7 separate regions of the Homo sapiens genome follow, and regions 1, 2, 4, 5, 6 and 7 are each linked to region 3. Evidence: promoter capture Hi-C in 16 types of primary human blood cells and fetal thymus (Javierre and others, 2016). All regions are on one chromosome and are shown on one strand. Each heading gives the region's core, a stretch centred on a gene start or on the middle of the fragment in contact. The rest is flanking DNA. Distances are from core to core; before and after follow the strand shown. Region 1 overlaps MYOM1 (myomesin 1). Region 2 overlaps SMCHD1 (structural maintenance of chromosomes flexible hinge domain containing 1). Region 3 holds the start of LPIN2 (lipin 2). Region 4 holds the start of MYL12A (myosin light chain 12A). Region 5 has its middle 7.6 kb from the start of MYOM1. Region 6 has its middle 20 kb from the start of EMILIN2. Region 7 overlaps EMILIN2 (elastin microfibril interfacer 2).

Region 1 (3,109 bases), core at 496-2,995, 190 kb before region 3:
GCAACCTCCACCTCCTGGGCTCAGGCAGATCCTCTTGGCTCAGTCCTCTCAGCCCGCAAGTAGCTGGAACTATAGGCGCGTGCCACTATGCCTAGTTAATTTTTGTGTTTTTTGTAGAGACGGGGTTTCACCATGTTGCTCAGGCTGGTCTCAAACTCCCGAGCTAGCTCGGACAATCCACCCACCTTGGCATCCCAAAGTGCTGGGATTACAGGTGTGTGCCACCGTGCCTGGCCTGTTGCATTATGTTCTGAATCCCAAAGACCAACCCTAAATCCAAGGAGAATGGTCCTTTCTATGTATCAGCCTCCTGCTCCAACTTCCTCAGCTGTAAACACAGGGAGAGAGAGCTAGGATTCTCACTCCTGGTAACAACAGGTTCACATAATTGGCAATTTATAGATCCATAGAACTGTGGAATGTTAAAGCAAGAAAGGACCAAAAGTTCATATAATTTAAGCCCCTCCTTTCATAGATGTGTAGACTGAGGCCCAGAAAGATGTGGTTCCTTCTTTGCCTGCTGTGCTTGACTCTTTTACCAGGCTCTCATGCAGCCTAAATCAAGTTGAGATGGCACCAGATATACCCAGAATGGCATAGTCTTCCCTAGGCAGGTGAATCATGCTGTGAGAAGGCATGTCCTTTTCCTAGAGTAGAGCAGAGTAGAATGAGTCAGCCAGAGGCGGAGGAAGGGCAAAGCTGCTACCTCCCTGGGCTCAGAGGTGAAACATTTGCTCTGTCCCTGCAGGCCCTTGGCCTCCATAGTGTCGGCACTGGCCAGGTAGTGGGGTGTAACTGAGCTTCCACAGAGAGACCTCTGGACTCTGGAAGCCCAAGGGTGCCTTTGCAACAGGCTTGAGGTTTCCCACAGCCATCTTTTAGATGAAACAAGAAAGCAAGAGTAAGGTAACTTTCGTGCAATGTCTAGTCAATCCCAGTGACCATCCCAAAGTAGAGTGGATATTGGTGTCTGGGCTGCTTTATAAATAAGTTAATAAGACCTGCTTTGACAAACCCTGGACACCTCAGTTCACAAAGAAACAACCTTAGACTTAGTAAGGCATCTCCTGATACTATTGTCAAGTGTCTTTATACTATAATGTCTAGGAAATATGGGGTTAAACTCTTTTACTCTTGCTTAAAAACTATAATGTAGTCCGATTAAATTCACTTATGGAATAGTCAGAAGTGAATAACAACTGAAGGATGTATATAGACAAGAACCATAAGAGATTTAATTCTCTCAGAGTTTTACACATCCACCTTTTCTAGAACACATGAATATTCTACATTCCTAGGGCATTTGTTTTTATATCATGGCTATACACTAACTGTGTAAAGTTACTGAAAAAGCAAGGAAAATGTTACATATCAATGGAAATTTAAATCATGGAAAAAATAAAGCAATAAATTAAATGAAAAAATTGCGGTTATATTCCTATTTAAATAGTTTTTTTTAAAAAAAACTGAAAGTGAGATATGGCTAAGAGTAAAATGAAGAGAAGAGATTAGTGTAAGATAAATAATGCAAAAAAAATTAAAATCCAAGGGAAGGCTATTTATTTTGACATCATAATATTTATTATGACGCTACCTGTCAGTAAATTTCAAGGATCATGTCGATCTAACTAAATTCATGTTTGTACCATAAGAAACTTTTTCTGAAAAGTGTATTAGCAAAAAGAGGACTCTTCAGCTTTCTACTTGTCCGCGAACTTTGATGTTCTCCTGAAACCTCCATGTGTGTCAAGATTGGGAAATGGGAGAATCAAGAATCAGTAGGTGTTAGGCCACCGGGATTGCCTGTATCAAAGGAGGAGCACAAAACCAAGCTGTTCTCAATCAAAAGTAGATCCAAAACAACGTTTTCACAAAAGTCCAAAGAAAAGTATCATTTTTCAGGTTTTGCGAAGAGGAAATTGTGGCGAACAGAAAATTGGAGAGTAGAAAAGAGAATGCAAATTCCCAGCGACTCTGCACAGGGTCCTAAAGATGAGAGATGTAATTCAGATGCTGAAGCCCTGCGGAGGAGCAGCTAACTGGAGCAAAGACAGCCCAGAAGAGGCCCAGAAAAAGCTGACCCACAGTTTAAAAACATGGCCTCTTTCTCTCTTCCAGTAAACGGCTGAGCATTTCGCATATATGTGAACAGTACGGAGCTGTAAATATATGTAAAGATGAAGTTTTTAAAGGAACATTTTTAGAATAGAAAAAATGAATTCAGCTCTTTTGTGGCCTTTCAGTAAAGCCTAATGAAAACACATAGATAAGTCAGCATTAAAAACAGAGCTTTTCATCCTGGGATGTCCTACCCATCTTTGAATGTCCAGCTCTTCCACGAAGGATTCCCTGATAACCCCAGACAGAAGCTCACTCTCGAGTGTGTGAATTCACATTTTGTTTGCACTGGCCTTTGTGGTTACTGGCCTTCCTTCTTTGTGTTCTTCCATCCTTTCTTCCTTGATTGACATAATATATTTGCTCCCTTACTAGACCGTAAAGCTCTCAGAAGACAAGGGTTTTACATTTATCCTTGTATCCTACTCCTACCCCAGTGCCAAACACAGTATTTTGCACACAGTAGATACTCAATAATTTTTTTTGTCAAATAAATGAAATTGCTACAGAATGTTAAGAAATAAACCCGTGAGGATTTCAGTGGTATTATAACGTGTTATATGTATATACATTGTGAACGATTGAACAAGGAGATTGTTCAATAATGTTTGAAATAAACTTTCTCGTGCACTTTCTGAAATACCAGCTGGGTTGTATGCTAAGTTTACATTTAACTCTATAAGAAACTACCCAGTGGTTTTCCAAAGTGGTTGTACTGTTTTACCTTCCCACAAAAATGTATGGGGATTCTAGTTTATCCACATCCTTGTCAACATTTATTGTTTTCTGTCTTATTTATTATAGCCATTATAATGTGTGTGTAATAGAGTTTTGTTGTGGTTTTGATTTGCATTTGCTTAATGACCAATTTTGTTAACCATCTTTTTTGCATTTAGTAGCCATTTCTGTATCTTCTTTAGTGAAATGCCTATTCAAATGTTTTGCCCATTTTTTAATTGGATTTTTTTCTTATTGAGTTGTCATAGTTATT
Region 2 (3,389 bases), core at 354-2,853, 210 kb after region 3:
TGCATATTTAGAAAGGGTTTAAAAACACATACATTTCCTGGGACACAAACTTACTTACCAAATGTATGTCCTTACAAAATAACTTCACAGATCAATAGTCTTGAACTTACACAAAGACATATATATGACATACATTAGGTTAATATACATTTCAAATGTTTTTGCAGCAACTTTCTACCAGAAAGTACACTAATGTGAGAATGTATGTTCTCTTTAACCCCTTAAAAATAGTAATAAAAAATTACAAAATAATGTAAATGTAAAATTAAGGCTGAGACTACATATTCTAGTATTAATAAAGTCAAACAAACAATAGTTATAAAACTTGGTGCTGCTGAATATTTTATATATATATATTTATATATATATATATATATACACACACACACACACACAGGATAAGTCTTTTGAAATTTGAAATGCTACCACTGTCACAAGTTCACTCATTGATTTAATGTTGTTCTGGGTATCTTAACATTTCAATTCCCAAATACCTGTGCTTTTAAAATTTTTATCCTGAATTCTGCATTGAGTTTCCTCACATATTTACAATTAAACATCTAGCCTCTAGAACCTCCCTTACACAAAAGACAAAACATCTTTGTTAAATAAATTCACGCAAAAGTAATAAAAAGGTTTTCAAGAAATAGTTCTGACATGTTCATTATATTTATACTGAAAAATAGTACATGTACTTTTCTTCAGGATTAATAAATGCCATGTGCCAGTTTTACAGTCACTGCCACATTAGCACATTTTCCTCTTACACATTTGCAAGGTAGTGACAACCAAAGGGCATAATGTCTGGAATAATTCCAGTAAATCCATAATGTCCAGTAAGATTCATAAAATTGAATGGTTGTTTCCAGTCCCATCTGAATCGAAATGGAAATTCATGCCCAGGTACTTGTATTGTCCCCAGAAATACTCAGTCTGGTAAGTCACCCTCTTGGTCTTCTGAAACAGAGATGCAGAAAGCAGGGCATTCTTACTGAGACCAATGGCCTCTTCTCTCTGTCACCTCTCATACATCTGTTTTGGTTATAATCCTGGTCAAAGGGGAAAGAAAAAAAAGTTTTATGTACCAAAGGTTTCCTTTCCCTGAATTCCCTCATCACACCTGAATGCTTAAATATCCAATGAAACCATATTCTTTTAAATATAATTCTTGGTATAAACAGATTTAATTAAATCCTTATATATAATCATTTCCTTCACATGTATGCAAAACAAGCCCCCAAATAAAAGTAGTTAACACACACACAGTATATAACATATATAAGTAATTTGTATCACAGTGCTTTGAAATGGTATTATCTCAGACCTAAATTCTGCAGATTTTTCCTTTCACCCCCTTTTCCTTAAATGAACTTATTATTTTAAGAACAGGAATTATAATGCTTATTACAGAAAAGTAACAAAGACAAGCAAAATAAAACATTTAATATTCATAATCTCATTCATGTAGAGATGAACACAGTGAGCACCTTGACATATATAGCTACAGATTTTAAAAATTCAGGTATATGTAAATATTTTCTAATAGTTCCCTGAACTATCTCCAAATAGAAGATGATACATATTTTTAACAGAACTAATTTTTAATCTTTATAAGTGGAAAATTATTTAGAAAACTGAAGCCTCTATTCAAGAAAACAATGGAATCTACTGCATAGTATCATATATTGCTAAGCATATCTAATGAATTCTAAGATATTTTTTCACACTTAACATCTCTGAAATCCAGATGTACTTTATAAGGTCATGAGTTAATTTGCAATATTTTTCTTTAATGTTTCATAAAATGACATTTTTATAGTTAATGAAATCTTAAAGTTGATGAAACATAGTATGTGATCTATAAGCAGTAACAAATATATATTCAGTATACATATGTAAATAAAAACATAAACATAAATATACAGAAACACATATAATGTACCTATTTCCTTTCCTACTATTAAATTTGTTCCTGATTGTATGGATGAAATATACCAATATTCAATACTGTTAAGATTTTTATTTCAAATGCTCTGACCTCTTGAGAGTGTGAGATTTATTAAAGATTTATAGAGAATAGGAAAAGACTGAGGATGAGAAAATCCCTCATAGTGATTTTAACAAATTTCATGAATATAATCAGGATGCAAAGAGGAGAAAGTCGCAGTCCAGAATACACCAAATTTTCCACCTAAACTTCTAATACCGCCATCACAAAGCTAAACAAATGATAGCTTTGTGTGTGTGTCTCCCCATGTACTAAAGGCTGCACTGAAAATATGGTTCTTTGGCTTCTCTAAAATCACTGACACTCTTTCTCCCTCTCCTTGATATGATACAGTATTACTATGAAGTATCTTAGTGAGTATTTTGTCAGTCACTGTTGCTGGGCATTCAATGAATTTTATTCATCCCTAGGAAATCCTCTTCCACATGATAGCATTTCCTTCTCCATTTTCTTCTTTCTAGATTCCTAATAGTCTGAATTGGTTCTCTATGTCTTCTATCTCTTTTTGTATTGGGGAAGTTTTCTTTTTGGACTTTAATCCTCCTATTGAACATTTTTATTTCAGCAACAATATTTGTAATCTGTTTATTCATTCTTGTCCTGGCTCCTTTCTGCTACATAGTAATTATAATTTTATAAAAGAGGTCTAGTCTCTTTACTAAATTGTCCTCCATGTTGATTTTGGAACTTAATCTTGAATTTTGTCTCTCACGTTGCTGGCTACCCTCATATGTGTGATGACTGTTAGTTGTACAATTACATTTAAGAAAGAGGATTACATTGCTAGCTGGAATTTCTTCTACTATTATAAAAATAGAACTGTTTTACCAACAAGTCTCTTCTCCGAGTGGGACTTGATGGTAACTATAACTGGGATAGGGCAAATCAACGTCATGGGTCCACAGGTTTTGCTTTAAACATGTGGATGTTGGGCCGAGCATGGTGACTCAGGCCTGTAATCTCAGTACTTTGGGAGGCCGCGGCAGGAGAGTAGCTTAAGCCCAGGAGCTTGAGACCAGCCTGGTCAACACAGCAAGACCCCATCTCTACAAAATAAATAAAGTAAAAATTGTTGAATTAAAATCAAAATAGATAAATGTGCAGGTGCAGAGCCAGTTATCAGCCTTTTAGTTCCCAGAGGCCAGCATTAGGTCCTAGTGTGCCAGCAACTACCAAAAGCCAATATACCAACATTTAATTCATTTCCATTGTTATCTAACTTTGTAGTGGCATCTTTTCATGCCTGTTGACAAGGAAACAAAGCTTTCAAAGTTTGGGTTGAAAATCTGGTACATTCTAGGCTGTGGCTTCCTTTCCTTTTCCATTCTGTTCCGTCCTTTTTATTTGCCACTCTCCCTGTTTGGGAGACAGGACTCCCAAA
Region 3 (3,017 bases), core at 368-2,867:
CTCCCTGAATCCAAGCACTGCCCAGCTACACCAGGCACTGGTGGGAAGAAACTGGGCTGCAGCTGGATCCTTCAAGGAGCAGCTTTGTGTATGCAAATGCCTATTTCAGTACCCTTAGAACTGTATAAATGATCACACACAAGATGCACCTCATAAATTAACTGCCATTTATATAGAAGTAACATAGGCTTCTGTTCATTACTTTCAATCATAGAATAGTAATAGAATAGGCTGCAAATTAAAAACCAGTGTGCACCAATAGTATATAGCACCAGCAATCCAGTTTTTTTTGTTTTTTTTTTTTTTGAGACAGAGTTTCGCTCCCAGGCTGGAGTGAAGTGGCGCAATCTCTGCTCACTGCAACCTCCGCCCCCCGGGTTCAAGTGATTCTACCGCCTCTGCCTCCTAAGTAGCTGGGATTGCAGCCAACATGCCCGGCTAATTTTTGTATTTTTAGTAGAGGCGGGGTTTTGCCACGTTGGCCAGGCTAGTCTCCAACTCCTGACCTCAGGCGATCGACCCGCCTTGGCCTCCCAAAGTGCTGGGATTACCGGCGTGAGCCACCGCGCCGGGCCCCATTTCTTTTCTTTCTGAGACGGAGTCTCTCTGTCGCCAGGCTGGAGTGCAATAGCGCCATCTCGGCTCACTGCAATCTCCGCCTCCCGGGTTCAACTGATTCTCCTGCCTCAGCCTCCTGAGAAGCTGGGATTACAGGCACGCGCCACCACGCCCGGCTGGTTTTTTGTATTTTTAGTAGAGACGGGGGTTTCACCATGTTGGCCAGGCTGGTCTTGAACTCCTGACCTCAAGTGATCCGCCTGCCTCGGCCTTCCAAAGTGCTAGGATTACAGGCGTGAGCCACCCATTTCTTAAAAAGTATATTTTAATGCTGGGGACGGTGGCTCATGCCTGTAATTCCAGTACTTTGGGAGGCCGAGGTGCGGGGATGCTTGAGCCCAGGAGTTGGAGACCAGCCGGGGTAACAGAGCGATAAAAAGAATAAACAAAAAACAACAGAACCCCGGCATATTTTTAAAAATGAGTTGTGTAATAGGATTTTTTTTTTTTCGGTGGAGATGTAAGTAAGCAAAGGAGATGTGCTACTAGTGATCAAAAGGGGATTATAAAACATTCATTCCCTAGACTTTTTTTGCACTTTAACATTCCTTTTTGGCAATTGGGCTCTCAGTCCCACGTGACCTGCCGCAGGGTTGCCATGGGGACCGGAAGAAACTTTTTTTTTTTAAAACAAAGTAAGGCTCCTGTCGCCCGAGGCACTAGAAAATCGAGGCCCCGCCCTCACTTGGCCAGGGGCCCGGGCGCGCAGCCCAGGGACTGGGAGCGGTGAGAAGCCGCACGCCTGGCGCTCGGCGGCGGGGGCGCGGCGCGCGGCCGGGAGCGCGCGTCACGTGGCTGGGGCGGGGCCTGCGCGCTGCCCGCCCGCCAGCTGCCGGCTCGGCCGCCGCAGCCGCGGCGTCCCATTCATGAGGGCCGCCCGACTCAGCTGCGGCCCAGGCGGCTTCCAAGGCAGCGGCGGCTGCGGGCGCTCCGACCCCGCGCGCGCCCCCGACCGGCCCCGCCCCCTCGGCTTCCCTCCCCGGCGGGTCCTAGCCGTCGCAGTCCAGCCGCCGCCTGCCCTCAGCCGCCCGCTGGCCGGGAGCGGAGCCCCTGTGGGTAAGTGGGCGCGGGCCGGGCTCCTCGCAGGCGTCCCTCCGGGGCTGGCGGTGAGTGTCTGCGCCTGGGGGCTTCCCTTGGCGCGGGCCCGGGGCTGTCCTGCCGGAGGCCGGGACCCTCCGGGGCGGCGCGGGTTGAGCCGCCCCTCCTCGCGCCGCGGTCCCCGCTTCCCGGTCCTCGCGTCCCAGTCCCCGCCTCGCCGCGACCGCGCCACGTAGACGCGGCCCCTACCGCCGCCGCCGCAGGACGGACCGGCGGGGTGCGCGGGGAGCCGGGGGCGTCGGGGCGTCAGTGGTGGCTGCTGAGGACTCTGAACCCGCGCAGTTCCCTCGCCGCCGCCCTGGGGATGGTTACCCGAGACCACCCCTACCCCTGGGTTTGGGGCGCGGAGGGGAGTGCGGAAGGCGCGCGGGAGGCCGCGTCTCCATCCCGCCCCCGGCCCTGCGGGAGGGGGCGCCGGGCACGTGATCTGCGGCGAGGCGGGGGCCGCCGAGTTGCTGGTGTTTCTTCCCCGCCGCGCTTTGCCCCGTACCTCCGCCTTCAAGCTGTGTGGACCGGATTCAAATGTGGTTAGTTTTCTCAAAGCCCCCCAGCCCCCGGTGCAGATCTTAATTTGTGAGGAACACGTTCAGATACAGTTTGTACTGAGAGCCTCTCTGTCCACTTCTAACGCCAGCGGATCACCATTTTCTCCACTCGCCTGAACATTTTAAGACTCTTTTCATTGAAAATTCAAGATGACATTTTTTAGGCATAATTATGCAAACCAGTACCAGAAAGATCACCCTTCCTTTCCGAAAAGTACTGGAACTCTGAATACTTGGAAATGCTTTGAAGGACTACTTAGTAAATGGCCAAACTAATTTTTAATGCACATTTGGGGCTTACCCATTTTTTTTTTAATTGAAAACGAGGCTCTAGACTTGGTGTCAAGGTAGGTCCTGTTGAATGAAGTTCTTTACCCAGTAGTGATGATGGGTGTTACTGTTTATTAAAACTTGGCCTGGCTAGATTATAATGTTTTGACAATACAAAGTCGGTTTTGAAATACATTTTGAAATATTTACGAATTATTTAGTGGCCCATACTGGTTTATGTTTTAACGGTCTGGTGTTGATCGTTCTTAGTGGCTTCAGATTGAGAAGAAGTGGCAGGTGATGCTGAAGCGGGGGAGAAGCGGCAGAGCCGGCCACACAGTGCAGGGGATGGAGACAGGTGCTGGGCTGGTCCTCCTGCAGCATCCTCAGTTGTTGGAGGGCAGTCATCCTCAGGCCGTACCCAGCCAGAGAAGAAAAAGAACAGTGTGAAGCCACGTGTGATAGCCGTCCAACATCGGCTCTTCC
Region 4 (3,240 bases), core at 741-3,240, 230 kb before region 3:
GATTACAGGCACCCACCACCATGCCCAGCTAATTTTTGTATTTTTAGTAGAGACGGGGTTTCACCACCTTGTGCAGGCTGGTCTTGAACTCCTGACTTCGTGATCCACCTGCCTCGGCCTCCCAAAGTGCTGGAATTACAGGCGTGAGCCACCGCACCCAGCTCGAGTCTTTATTTTTGAGGGATTAAGTGAAAGATCCTTGGTGTCAAGGAGTGTCTGTTGTACGAAACTGGAAAGTAGAGAGACTTACAGAACAGGCTTCTACAAAATATGAGGATTTCAGATGCATGAGAAAGTGGATGAAGGGCAGTTAGGAGACTGAGTTTACAGATCTAAAGGAGCATAACCTTTTTTTTAAGTCAGGCGAGGTGAGCGCTGGTGGCAATGAATCTGGTTTTTATTTTGTGTTTTAGCTCAGAATCATTGTGGGCTGTAACGAGAGATACACAACATGATTAAGGAAAATGTTAGACTAGATTAATAGGTGGGAGAAATAGAAGAGATTCTCAAAGTGGCTTTCCCCACACACCAAAGGACACAAGAAGTTTTCAGAATCTCTAGAAACTATGTTCATTTATAAAATGGGATTAATCCATACCAATATATACATTAGAGTTCTGTGGTTAGAATCCTAGAGTCCAGCATTTATTTACAAAGTGGCAATAAATGTAAAATAACCTAGAAACTTCTTCTACAAAACGAACACTCAAATTGATAATATTCTGAGAAATATCACACATTCTGCAAGAAAAAACCACCATCTTACAAAACACTGCGTACTGTGATAGCACCTAGTATTTGGTGGGCTTTCTAAACCCTGACCAAATATACCGCCTCATTTAATCAATGCACTTAAAAAAAAAAAGCCTAAGTATAACTTATTTTCTGGTGCTAACCACAATTTTTAAAAAGTGTATTTCAAGTTGGTGCTTCCGTTCCAAGTAAACCAAGTTTCATTTCTTATGCAAACTTCCGGTTGAAGGTAGGATTCGTTCTCTTGGACTGCCACACCCAAAAGTTCTCACCACTGGACAAAGACAATTAGCTGTGAGGGCTGACTTGCCAGTAAAGCCTCGCTTTTGAAAATAGAGTGCTTTTCTGATTACCGTTTATTAGAGCCCTTCCAGAACATGAAACAAATACCAATAATTTTAAGAAATATTCGCTTTATTCGCCTTTAAATATGAAACTTTTTGCACTTAAGTTAAAATCTCTGCTAAATCCATAGGTCTCTCAAGAACTGACAGATACATTCATATACCTACTAAACTACTTTAAAAAGAAGACACTTCCATGGCGAATTGAATTAGCCCAAACTTTCCCCCCAAATGGGACAAGGTATTACATTTTGGAGTTTTTCTTCGAGTCACAAACTAAACTCCAGATCTCTCTGTCCAAAATTTCATCGCTTAAAGAAAAAAAGTTCTAATTACAGGAGCGGATACTGAGCTGAAGAACTTCCCAATTTGAGTTGGTTATTCCTACTAAACGCAGCCACACAGCTGCAACAACAGCTGCAGCAGGGGGACAACGGGCTACGTTTTTGCGCAAACCCTCTTGAATCGGGCAAGTTGACGTTAGAAACTAAAATAGTCCCGGAGTCAGCTCTGCAGGGGTCGGGTTTCGCGGGCCCGGCAGTCGCCCAAGCTCAAGGCGCCAGTGAGCGAAGCCACATTTCCAGAGTTCCAAGTTTGGGCACAGGAGCGAAGTTCGGGTCTGGGCCACTCCAAGCCATGGCCTCGGATCCCAGAACCGGGGACCTGGCTGGCACACCTGCCCAGGTGCGCTACCGGCGCCAGGAGCCCCGCCGCCCTCCAGCTGCCCCCGCGGAGACGGGTCCCCGGGATGGGTCTCACGCGCCCGAACGCGAGCGCCACTCACCCGGCACAGCTACGAGAATCCGAGCACCTCTCCGAGCCCCTCGCTGCCGCTATCACACCACCCTGCTACCCAGAGAGCCGCTAAAAACCACCGCTTCCGGCCTCTGCTTAGCAAGCCGGAAGGAAGCCCGGTCACCTTTCTTGGCCCGCAGAGTGGGTCTGACTTCACGGAGGGGCGACAGAGAGGGAAGTCGCCAGTGTGGTCAGCGGGCGTGGTATTGACCAAGTGCATGAGAAGGAAGTGTAAAGTGGGCGACCTAGAATATAGAGCAATATATAATGGTCCTCTGGGTCCTGTTACTGAGTTTCCTTCTTTTTTGTACCTGTTGTTGCAGTGTTAAGTCTTCCTCCCCCCTATCCTTTCCGCAGATGGTTGCGTCCGTCCTGTGGCTTTGCCTGGCCGCACATTCCAGGGCACGGCGAAGGGCGGGGCCCGTCGGCCCAAGTCCTTGTAGGGAAATCGAGGAGAGGGCTGCGGGCCCACGTGACTGACCCTCGCCCCGCCCCGAAGCCGGGCTCCAGCTTGTGGGCGGTAGTGCGCCTGCGCTTGACGCCCCGCGCGGGGTCTGGGTCTCCGCCTGAGGGCCCCGGAGCAGTGCGCGTATCCCGGGAGCGGATCTTGATGCTAGCTCTGTGTGCAGTGTAATTTTATTAAGAGTCCCGCCCCCTCCATACGGGAGGAAACGTGTGTCCCTGGGGCCCTCAGCCAAGCCTCCACTATCTTTTTGGCCCAGACGGATTTCCCAGGTCACAAGTGGCTGGAGACTTCCTCTTGAAAAACATTTGCCGTCGTTTTTCCCTGGCAGAGCCCCTTTGACCCTGGCTAACAAGGACAGCCTGACTTGGATCCCACTATGCAGGAAGGAAGGCGACTCTTCCCCGCACCTCTTGCTACGATTAGGACTTGCGACTTGGTGAAAACAGGAATCAAAACTTGGGCCTATTTCTCCTGAGGTCTGCTTGCCTAGAACAATTCGTAACGATGAATCTTATTAAAAAGAGAAAGTCCTCCCCGACTTTATCTTTTTCCGCCCAGAATCCGATAAGGAAGACTTGTTCTGGCCCCCTCAGCTCTCTGACCTCACCTACCAGAGGAGAGAGTGGGATCCTCTAACACTCGAGCCGTCATCCCAGCACTAGGGGACAGTGACCAGTGTGGCTCCCGTGGCCAGAACCCTTCTGAAGTTTGGGTTGCCCTGTGGTCTTCGCCTTCAAAGCAGGCCGCCACTTGAATCCTTCTGGAACGGACAGTGTTGCTGTAAACGCCGCGGAATAGTATCTTCTAAGTATTCGTAGCTTCTTTCTTGAGGGATCTCGGGAACGTTCCGTGTATTAACCACTAACGTATTCCAAAGTTAAC
Region 5 (3,030 bases), core at 143-2,642, 210 kb before region 3:
AAATTTCCAGGTGCTCAACACTTAGAGACCAGGTAACAAATTATAGCAGAGCAATACAACACATTCATTCATTGTTATTGAAAGGACAACTGCGGACAGGGTAGGACATTGGTGAGAACCAAGTGCAATACTGGTGCATCCAGTATCCAGATGAAACTCAAAAACATCTTGCCAAGTGAAAGAAACCAGACACAAATGACTACATATGGTAGGATTCCATTTGTGTGAAATTTCTAGAAAAAGCTGAACTGTAGAGACAGAGGTCAGTGGTGGCCTCGGTCACGCGCGGGACCCAGGATTAACTGCAGACAAGCCTGAGGAAACTTTTCTGGGTGATGGAAGTGTTTTAAAACTGGATTTTGGTGATGGTTGCACAATGTAAAAATTGACTAAAACTCCCTGAACTTTACTCTTAAAATGGATTAATTTATGGTGTGTCAATTTTATTGCTATAAACTGTTAAAAGGAAATTCGAAATGAATTGAAACTGAAAACTCAGATCTGCTGATCTTTATTCTGGTTCTTACTTTTAAAGGAAAAAAAAAACCATATGATTTTTGTAAAAGTAACACACAGTCATTGTCGGGAGACAGTTCTCCGCGGGCTTCTTGTGTTTCGGCACATGTTGCAAGCGAAGATCTGGCTCTCCGTTGTTCCAGCCTGTTTCTGCAGGACTGTTCATATAGTGAACAGCCTTTGAAGACAGAGTAAGTGTCTCCAGCCACAGCAAAAGGCAGACACGCTTACTATCCAGTGTAACAAGAATATCTCCCTCTGAAGCAAAGGGCAGGTATGCTGAATGCTCATGATGAAATATTCAGGTGCTCTAAAGTCAAGATTCTTCTTCTGTAATGCAGCCCACTGTGACTGCAGGTGTCACCTGGTCTTCATCACGTTGTCCTTTGGGAACATGGGGATTGGGGGCTGGCAAACCAGTGAAGAATATGCTGACACTTGGCCACTGCTCTTGCTGTCAGGAGTAAAGCTCTTTGTCTTCTTGTGTCTTCTGTCAACACTCATGAAACTGTAGCAGGATCACTTTTTAGTTTGCAAGTAGGGTAAAATCTCTGACTCCTGCGTTCCTTTTTTTAAAAAATTGTGGTAAAATATACACAACATTAAATTTACCATTTTAGCCATTTTAGGGATACAGTTCAGTGGCAGTAAGTACATTTACACTGTTGTATAACTATCGCCATTACACATCTCTACAGCTTTTTAAAAATTAATTAATTTTTTTTTGAGATGGAGTCTCGTACGGCCCCCTGGCCTAGAGTGCAGTGGCTCGATGGCTCACTGCAACCTCCGCCTGCTGGGTTCAAGCGATTCTCCTGCCTCAGCCTCCCAAGTAGCTGGGATTACAGGTGCCTGCCACCATACCCAGCTAATTTTTTTGTATTTTTAGTAAAAGCAGGGTTTCACCATGTTGGCCAGGCTGGTCTCAAACTCCTGACCTTGTGACTCGCCCACCTCGGTCTCCCAAAGTGTTGGGATTACAGGTGTGAGCCACCGCGCCCGGCTCACATTGCTCTAGAGCTTTTTAATCATCCCATGTTGAAACTCTACCCATTAAGCTATACTCCTCATTACCCCCTTTCCCCAGCCCCTGGCAACCACTGTTCTGCTTTCTCTATAAACTCGACTACTCTAGGTACCTCATATAAGTGGAATCATACACTATTTGTCCTTGTGTGACTGGCTTATTTCACTTTGCATAATGTCTTCAGGGTTCATCCATGTTGTAGTGTGTGTCAGGATTTCACTCCTTTTTAAGGCTGAATAATATTCCATTGTATGTATATACCTTCACAGTTCTTGATGCTAATTATATCTTAAAATCAAGTAAAAAAAATACAAACAAGAAAGTTAAAAAAAAACAAAAGAAAGAGAAAGCATCTCATCATTTGGAAGTCATTATCATACCAGATATCTATTTATGAATAGACAGAAAAACAGGTAGAGACAAAAAATGTTAGAAAATGGGCTTTGGGGTCTTGCTTTCTAATACTCACCTCCAGTTCCCTGGCCTGGACTATGCGTGCAGGCAGCTTTCTGGCTTAGGGGCTTGTCCCTCTCCCAGAATCTACCCACCAGCTCCTGAGCCTCACACGCAGGTTAAGAGGGGCTCACAGCAGTTGTCCTCCCCGCAGCTGAACAGCTGATCCCTGGCCACACTGACTCCTAGCCCTTGTTTTTTCCCATCTCTAAGGAGTCCCTATGTCCTGAGGAGTTGTCCTTTGCCACATTTCCCAGTTTTCCTCATTCAGTAATTCTTTATTAAATGCCTGTTGTGGGTCAGGAGCTTTGCTGGGTACTGGGAGCACCTAGCCATAGAGATCCCGCTCCTACCAGTGAGTACTCATTGTGCAGAGACAGAAAAGTAAACACGTAAATACCACACGAAAAACTTCCCATCCTAGTGGAAGTAGGGAAGTCTCCCGGAAGGAGATGGCACGGGGTGTTGAAGGAGCGGGGTGAAGGAAGTGAGGAAGTGTGCGCGTGTTGGCAGGGCTGAGAGGAGCACCAGGTGTGAGGGAACCGGGGTGCTGGAGTCCTGGAGTTTGAGGGCTTGCAAGGAATTACCCGTGGTTGAAACTCAGGAGGCAGGCAGGGGAATGGAGAGGGGCGGAGCTGGAGAATTATGGAGGCTCATAGGGTGAAGATGCCCTCGTGCCATGCTGAGGAGGCCACCTGGGGAAGAATAGGCAGTGAGGAGCCATTGGAAGGTTTGAAGCAGAAGAGGACATAGTGAGCTCTGTCTGAATGCATTCTCCCTTTGTCATAGCGTCAGCTCACATTCTGTCCTCAATCCCAGTGCCTGGCTTACTGCAGCACTTCTACTCTCCAACCCGTGCACCACTCATGCTGACGAATGAATGGAACACAATGTTCCTTAGGTCTTCAGCAAATGCCACATAATGTATGCATTAGGGTTACAAATGAACAGATTCATGAAATGGAATTTTGATTCTCCAGTAGTTTGGTTCTAGTTCTAGTTGCGAATGCCATTATGTGAAAATACTGATGGGG
Region 6 (3,186 bases), core at 324-2,823, 190 kb after region 3:
TTTAAACAGTTTTGAGGTCAGAAAGTTCCAAGTTCAAATCATGTGATGATTTTTTTCGTTTTAAGAGATGGTGTTGGGCCAGGCGCGGTGGCTCACGCCTGTAATCCCAGCACTTTGGGAGGCCGAGGCAGGCAGATCACAAGGTCAGGAGATTGAGACCATCCTGGCTAACATGGTGAAACCCCATCTCTACTAAAAAAATACAAAAAAATTAGCCGGGCGTGGTGGCAGGCGCCTGTAGTCCCAGCTACTTGGGAGGCTGGGGCAGGAGAATGGTGTGAAGCTGGGAGGCGGAGCTTGCAGTCAGATGAGATCGTGCCACTGCACTCCAGCCTGGGTGACAGAGCAAGACTCCACCTCAAAAAAAATAAAATAAAATAAAAGAGATTGTGTCTTGCTTTGTCACCCAGGCTGGAGTGCAGTGGCACAACCGCAGCTCATTGCAGCCTCGAATGCCTGGCTCAAGTGACCCTCTCACCTCAGCTGCCTCTTGTACAGCCTGTAGAACCATGAGCCCAATAAACCTCTTTTCTTTACAAATTACCCAGCCTCAGGTATTCCTTTAAAGCAACACAAAACAGACTAAGATAGGGCCTGAACTGGTTCAACTACTTTGGAAAACAGTCTGCATTACTATTTATATTTGAACAGGTGTGTACTCTAAAACCCAGCAATTGCACCCCTAGATATATATACCCTTAAGGAAATCTTGGACAAGTGCACCAGGAGACTTATATTAAAATGGTACCCAGCCTGGGCAACATCATAGATAATCAGCCCAGTGAATTTTCACAAAGTGAACATAGCCATGGAACCAGCATCAGGATCATGAAGCAAAACACGACCACCCCTGGAAAGCCCCTTGTGGCTCCTTCCAGTTATCAACAGTACCCCAAAGTCACATCCGTTCTGACCCCCAACACCAGTTTTTCCTTTTTTTTTTTTTTTTTTTAATAAAGATGGTGTCTTGCTATAGTGCCCAGGCTGGCTTCCAACTCCTGGCCTCGAGTGATCCTCCTGCCTCAGCCTCCCAAAGGGCCGGGATGATAGGTGTGAATCGCTGTGCCCTCCTGTTACTTTTTTTTTTTTTTTTTAAGCAGAATCTTGCTCTTTCATTTAGGCTGGAGTGCAGTGATGCAATCTCAGTTCACTGCAATCTCCGCCTCCTGGGTTCAAACGATTCTCCTGCCTCAGTCTCCTGAGTATCTGGGGCTACAGGTGTGTGCCACCACACCCAGCTAATTTTTGTATTTTTAGTAGAGACAGGTTTTCACCATGTTGACCAGGCTGGTCTCGAACTCCTGGCCTCATGTGATCCGCCCGCCTTGGCCTCCCAAAGTGCTGACATTACAGGAGTGAGCCACCGAACCAAGCCCCAGCTATTAGCTTTGAACAAAGACTCATCAGAGGAAAAGCTTGTTTCTTATTTGTCTTATTCATATTTTATCCCTATGCCTGGCACAGTTCCTGGTGCATAATACTTGTTTAATCACATAGGTCAAATGAGTGAGAACAAGCAGACAGGCATCTGACTTTTACAAGACAGTTGACCAAATTAACATAATAATATACAGGGGGAAAGTGATGCTTGATTTCGATGAGAACTAAGATCCAGGAATGCTAACTCAGAAATGAGTTGAAAATTCAAACTTTGAACAGAAGACTACACTTTAGTTTTCTCTTGTAACAATTGTAAACAACTGTAATCAATCTAAAGCTCTGTAAAGCTTTGCTTAGGACTTCCTCAACTGTCCTACAAACACATGCACTGTCCCTGCTGAGGCCGACCTCCGGGGACCTTGTGTCTCCGTCTCACTTGTCAGCGACCCTGTGTTACAGAGACCCTCCTGCCTGACCAATGCAGCCAAGAAATGACTATTTTCAGCCTTCCCTGCCCGACTCCAGGGCCCGGTCAGTCCGAGGACAGAATAGTCATCCTCTCCCTAGGCCAAGCATGTGACCCCAGCCTGAGTGCTTCCCGCCCCAATGAATGAGATAATGAGAGGCCAAATAAGGTTTCAAAACACGCATTGCCTCAGAATTACAGTTTTCCTTAACTGTACTTTTAAATAGCTGGGATTAAGAGCCAAGCACTGCCAAATCGCAGCTTAGCAAGAGAGATCTGTCAACTGTGAGAGATAACAAAAGAAGAAAACCCATTTCAAGCTTTGAACTGCTGTTCCTAAATGATTCCCAGAGAAATACAAATAAATTATATCTTTTGAAGGGCAGATTCATGATGAATGATCTTGTTAGATTGGGGTTCCAAATACTTATTCAAGATACTTCAGAATTTTAAAGGAGCACTTTGGGAGGCTGAGGCAGGCAGATCACTTGAGGTCAGGAGTTCGAGACCAGCCTGGCCAACATGGTGAAACCCCATCTCTACTAAAAATACAAAAATTAGCTGGGCATGGTGGCAGGCACCTTCTCAGGAGGCTGAGGCAAGAGAATCGCTTGACCTCGAGAGGCTGAGGGTGCAGTGAGCTGAAATCATGCCACTGCACTCCAGCCTGGGCAACAGAGCGAGACTCTGTCTCAAAAAAAAAAAAAAAGGTAAAGGGAGCAAGTCTTGACCATGAAAATGACTTCATTTAGAGGATGCTGTCCTCCAATCTGCCCCACTCTCCTCCCCAAAGATCTGTGGTAATTTCTCAGAGATAAGCCTTCAAAGACTCCAGGCAGAGCTAAAGCCCCAACTGGAGATACACAAATCCATTTTATCCACATTGTAAGCAGTCTTCAAAAACAGGAATGTTCAAGCCAGAAACACATTGAATTTGCCTGAGAAAGCTGAGTGGAGAAAGCAATTCTTTCTCCTTTCTACCTCTTTCCAGTTACGTGTGATTGGAGGCCCTTCAGCCAGTGTAATCTTTGCCCAAGCTGCTCCTCTGTGTGGGATGGCAGGGCTAACCTCGCTGCCTGGAGAACTTCAGCTCCACCTACAAGACCTCTGTCCTCAGCCCTTCTTTGAAGCTTCTCCGGTGCCTCCAGGCCCTCTCAGATGTTACAACAAATAACTGAGAAAGAATTTATGGTGGAACTTAGCAAATCAGCAACAATGACAAATCAACAAGAAAAAGACAAACAATCCAATAGAAAAATAGACAAAAACTGGAATCTGCACTTCAAAGAAATACGAAACTCAAATGGCCAATAAATGCCAATATGCTCAACCTCATTAAT
Region 7 (3,460 bases), core at 563-3,062, 140 kb after region 3:
TGCCCACATGAAGGGTTATAGTTAATTTCCGACAATCAGGTGATGAATAATGAGGTCCTGAATGTCTCTCAGATAAAAGCAATCCTGCCATAACCTCCAAATGACAGGCCATGAACTAATTCAACTTCTTTTGCAACACGTGGTCCTTTCTAGCAATACCCTCAACAGAGGAGCACACAGATCCCCGCTCAGTGCCAAATCTCCACGTCCTCAGAACCTGTGGAGCAGGAGGAACTGCGGTCCCAGGCCCAATGCTCACACCCTCCACTGCCAGCTGGGCATCCCCCTCCATTCTGGCACGGACTGCCAGTCTCCTGAGTGAGTCCCTCCTGTGCCCCTCACCCCACATGGTCCCCCAACCCAAGTACGTTTTGCACACACAGCTGGGTAGCATTTGAAAGCACAGCTCTGATGATGTCCCTGCCAGGTGTGGTGGCTCACGCCTGTAATCACAATACTTAGGGAGGCAGAGGCAGGAGGATCACTTGAGCCCAGGAGTTCGAGGCCAGGCTGGGCAACATAGCAAGACCCCATCCTCCACAAAAAGGGGGGAAAAGCCCAAATTTGATGATGTCCCCAATGAAAGCATTCATGACCCTCCTCTGCATGGATAAGAAAGCCCACACTCCCAACCACAGTGTTCTGGACTGAATTGTGTGCCCCCCAGAAAGATATTTTGGAGTCCCAACCCCCAGTACCGGAAAATGTGACTTTATTTGGAGATAGGGTCTTTACAGAGGTGATCAAGTTAAAACAAGTTAAAACAAAGTCATTAGAGTGGGTACTGATCCAATAGGTCTAGTGTCCTTAGAAACCAGGGAAAATTTAGTTAACAGGTAGCTAAAGAAAAAAAGGGTGGTGGGGGAATTTGGAGACAGAGACAGACACACACAGAAGGGAAGATTATGTGAAGAGACACAGGGAGAAGACGGACATCTACAAGCCATGGAGAGAGGCCTGGAACAGATCCTTCCCTCGAAGCCCTCAGGAGAACCAACCCTGCTGATGTCTTGATCTACGACCCCCTGTGGACACCCACCTCCAGGTCCCTGCTCGTGTGTCTTGGCTTACGCTGACCTTGGCCTTCTCTCACATCTGCATATATTCAACTAGAAGCTTCCTTCAAAGCCATAAGACGTCACCACTTGCAAACAAGTTCTCGGATTCCTCCTGGCTGGAAATAACTTTCTTCTACCTCTGAACACCCCAGCACGTTGTGTTTCTCTTACTACAATTCTCATTCCCACCTTTTATGTCGTAATTATTTATGTTTATCTTTCAATTCACTTGCTAGATGTGCACTTCCAGAAGCCAACAGAAAGATCCTTACTGTATCACTGTAGAAACTAGTTCTGGGCCACATGTAGGCTTTGAACAAAAATATTTGTTTAATGAAACAAATAGTCTTCAAATAATAAGTCTTCTTTCAAGCCTGTTGAGCTTTCTGACAATTCAAAATGGCTTATGCTAATTATGAATCCTTAATCCAACATTTTCCAGGGCTATAAATGTGAAATGTTTTTTACTTCATTATGTTTTTATTTTTATTTACTTATTTCTTTTGAGACAGGGTCTGTCACGTAGGCTGGAGTGCAGTGGCACAATCATAGTTCACTGTAGCCTCAACCTCCCCAGCCCAAGCGATCCTCCCACCTCAGCCTCCTGAGTAGCTGGGACCACAGGCGTGCACCACCACGCCCAGCTAATTTTTGTATTTTTGGTAGAGACTGGGTTTTGCCATGTTGCCCAGGCTGGTCTCTAACACCTGAGCCCAAGTGATCCACCTGCCTCAGCCTCCCAAAGTGTCGTGTTACAGGTGTGAGCCACCATGCCTAGTCCATTATTATCTAGTGTTCTATATCTGTAATGTATTTCCCATATCAGTTGTTCTTCAGAAACTCCGAGAAGTATCCTTACTATCAGTAAAAGTTATTTTGCCCACTCTGTATTTCACCACGTCTTCAGCAACTATACAAATGATGGTACACACACACACACACACACACACACAAACACACACACACACACAGAGGAATCTATCCAACAACAAAAAGTAATCAACTACAGCCAGGTGCAGTGGCACACACCTGGAGTCCTAGCCACTCAGGAGGCTGAGGTGGGAGGATCACTTAAGCCCAGGAGTTCAAAAACCAGTCTGGGCAATATAGTGAGATCCCATCTCAAAAAAAAAAATCAGCTACTGATACATACTACAACATGAATGAATCTCAAAATCTTTCTGTTCAATGAAAGAAGCCAGTCAAAAGAGAGTACAACCTGTATGACTCTATTTACATAAAACTTTAAAATATGCAAACTTATCCCTAGTGAGGGAAAGTGGATCAGCAGTTCCCAGGGAGGGGGTACGTGGAGAGAAACTGGAGGGAGAGATTAGCAAGGGATATGTTGATTGTGATGTTGGTTTCACGGGTATATATGTCAAAATATTAAACTGTACAACTTCAAATATGTGGCTTACTCATGTAAATTATACTTCAATTAAGCTTTTTTTTTTTTAACTATGTAATTTCTGCATTAAGGTATTTTTAAATCTCTTCAAATCTGTGAAAGGGAAGTACCAGAGAAGTCTTTTCTTGACTATGCAATAACATATTTCAATTACATAGAAACTAAAATCAGCATCATTAAGTCTTTGTCAAAGTTTCAGAATGTAGGTTTAACTAGAGTTGGTTTTTTAAAAATGTATCAGATTACTCTTCAGACACATAACCAATTGTTTCTGCCTATAGAGAACTCAGGTCTAATATTTACTTTTGTTCTTTTAAAGGTATTGGATCAATGATTAAGGAAGAAAGCCAAACAGGATTAAAAAAAAAAAAAACTCCCTTCAAACTGACATATTGTGTAAAATAACACAAAACATCACAGATGTATGTTAGCATTTTGAAAATACAACAAGAAAAATGTCCAGGACCAGATGGATTCACAGCTAAATCCTAACAGACATTTAAAGAAGAATTGGTCTCCCTCTCCCTCTCCCTCTCCTCTTTCCACGGTCTCCGTCTGATGCCGAGCCGAAGCTGGACTGTGCTGCTGCCATCTCGGCTCACTGCAGCCTCCCTGCCTGATTCTCCTGCCTCAGCCTGCCGAGTGCCTGCGATTGCAGGCGCGCGCCCCCACGCCTGACTGGTTTTCGTATTTTTTTGGTGGAGACGGGGTTTCGCTGTGTTGGCCGGGCTGGTCTCCAGCTCCTAACCGCGAGTGATCCGCCAGCCTCGGCCTCCCGAGGTGCCGGGATTGCAGAGGGAGCCTCGTTCACTCAGTGCTCAATGGTGCCCAGGCTGGAGTGCAGTGGTGTGATCTTGGCTGGCTGCAACCACCTCCCAGCCGCCTGCCTTGGCCTCCCAAAGAGCCGAGATTGCAGTCTCTGCCCAGCCGCCACCCTGTCGGGGAAGTGAGGAGTGTCTCTGCGTGGCCGCCCATCGTCTGGGATGTGAGG

The links. The method cuts DNA at HindIII sites, captures the fragments that hold promoters and counts their contacts. A CHiCAGO score of 5 or more calls a contact.
Region 1: a fragment that was not itself captured here is called in contact with the fragment with the promoter of LPIN2 in region 3 in 10 of 17 cell types (naive CD8 T cells, activated CD4 T cells, total CD4 T cells and 7 more); the score reaches 11.6 in naive CD8 T cells.
Region 2: a contact is called between a fragment that was not itself captured here and the fragment with the promoter of LPIN2 in region 3, in 6 of 17 cell types (naive CD8 T cells, activated CD4 T cells, neutrophils and 3 more). The highest score is 8.4, in naive CD8 T cells.
Region 4: a contact is called between the fragment with the promoter of MYL12A here and the fragment with the promoter of LPIN2 in region 3, in 14 of 17 cell types (monocytes, naive B cells, total CD8 T cells and 11 more). The highest score is 9.4, in monocytes.
Region 5: a fragment that was not itself captured here is called in contact with the fragment with the promoter of LPIN2 in region 3 in 7 of 17 cell types (activated CD4 T cells, naive CD8 T cells, total CD4 T cells and 4 more); the score reaches 10.1 in activated CD4 T cells.
Region 6: a fragment that was not itself captured here is called in contact with the fragment with the promoter of LPIN2 in region 3 in 1 of 17 cell types (activated CD4 T cells); the score reaches 6.2 in activated CD4 T cells.
Region 7: a contact is called between a fragment that was not itself captured here and the fragment with the promoter of LPIN2 in region 3, in 1 of 17 cell types (activated CD4 T cells). The highest score is 6.6, in activated CD4 T cells.

What each region holds. Positions count from the first base shown.
Region 1 is chr18:3,205,355-3,208,463 of GRCh38, reverse strand. All of the region lies in intron 2 of MYOM1 (myomesin 1), which reads left to right. Among named protein-coding and RNA genes, the nearest start is that of MYOM1, 13 kb to the left of the region's middle. The HindIII fragment of the contact is 7,009 bases long and covers 1-3,109 here.
Region 2 is chr18:2,800,188-2,803,576 of GRCh38, reverse strand. It overlaps SMCHD1 (structural maintenance of chromosomes flexible hinge domain containing 1), which reads right to left. Exons shown (of 48, transcript NM_015295.3): 48 at 1-1,049. The coding sequence ends at 1,025. Among named protein-coding and RNA genes, the nearest start is that of EMILIN2, 45 kb to the left of the region's middle. The HindIII fragment of the contact is 3,341 bases long and covers 1-3,273 here.
Region 3 is chr18:3,011,744-3,014,760 of GRCh38, reverse strand. It overlaps LPIN2 (lipin 2), which reads left to right and starts at 1,617. Exons shown (of 20, transcript NM_001375808.2): 1 at 1,617-1,674. RefSeq lists a silencer at 1,227-2,176. The HindIII fragment of the contact is 8,581 bases long and covers 1-3,017 here.
Region 4 is chr18:3,246,551-3,249,790 of GRCh38, reverse strand. It overlaps MYL12A (myosin light chain 12A), which reads right to left and starts at 1,990. Exons shown (of 4, transcript NM_006471.4): 1 at 1,882-1,990. It also overlaps a transcript of MYOM1 not described here. RefSeq lists enhancers at 852-921, 2,054-2,283 and a silencer at 1,684-1,763. The HindIII fragment of the contact is 13,247 bases long and covers 1-3,240 here.
Region 5 is chr18:3,226,028-3,229,057 of GRCh38, reverse strand. It overlaps a transcript of MYOM1 not described here. Among named protein-coding and RNA genes, the nearest start is that of MYOM1, 7.6 kb to the right of the region's middle. The HindIII fragment of the contact is 8,579 bases long and covers 1-3,030 here.
Region 6 is chr18:2,825,540-2,828,725 of GRCh38, reverse strand. No RefSeq gene overlaps it. Among named protein-coding and RNA genes, the nearest start is that of EMILIN2, 20 kb to the left of the region's middle. The HindIII fragment of the contact is 312 bases long and covers 1,418-1,729 here.
Region 7 is chr18:2,868,338-2,871,797 of GRCh38, reverse strand. The region is part of intron 2 of EMILIN2 (elastin microfibril interfacer 2); the gene reads right to left. Among named protein-coding and RNA genes, the nearest start is that of EMILIN2, 23 kb to the right of the region's middle. The HindIII fragment of the contact is 1,388 bases long and covers 1,119-2,506 here.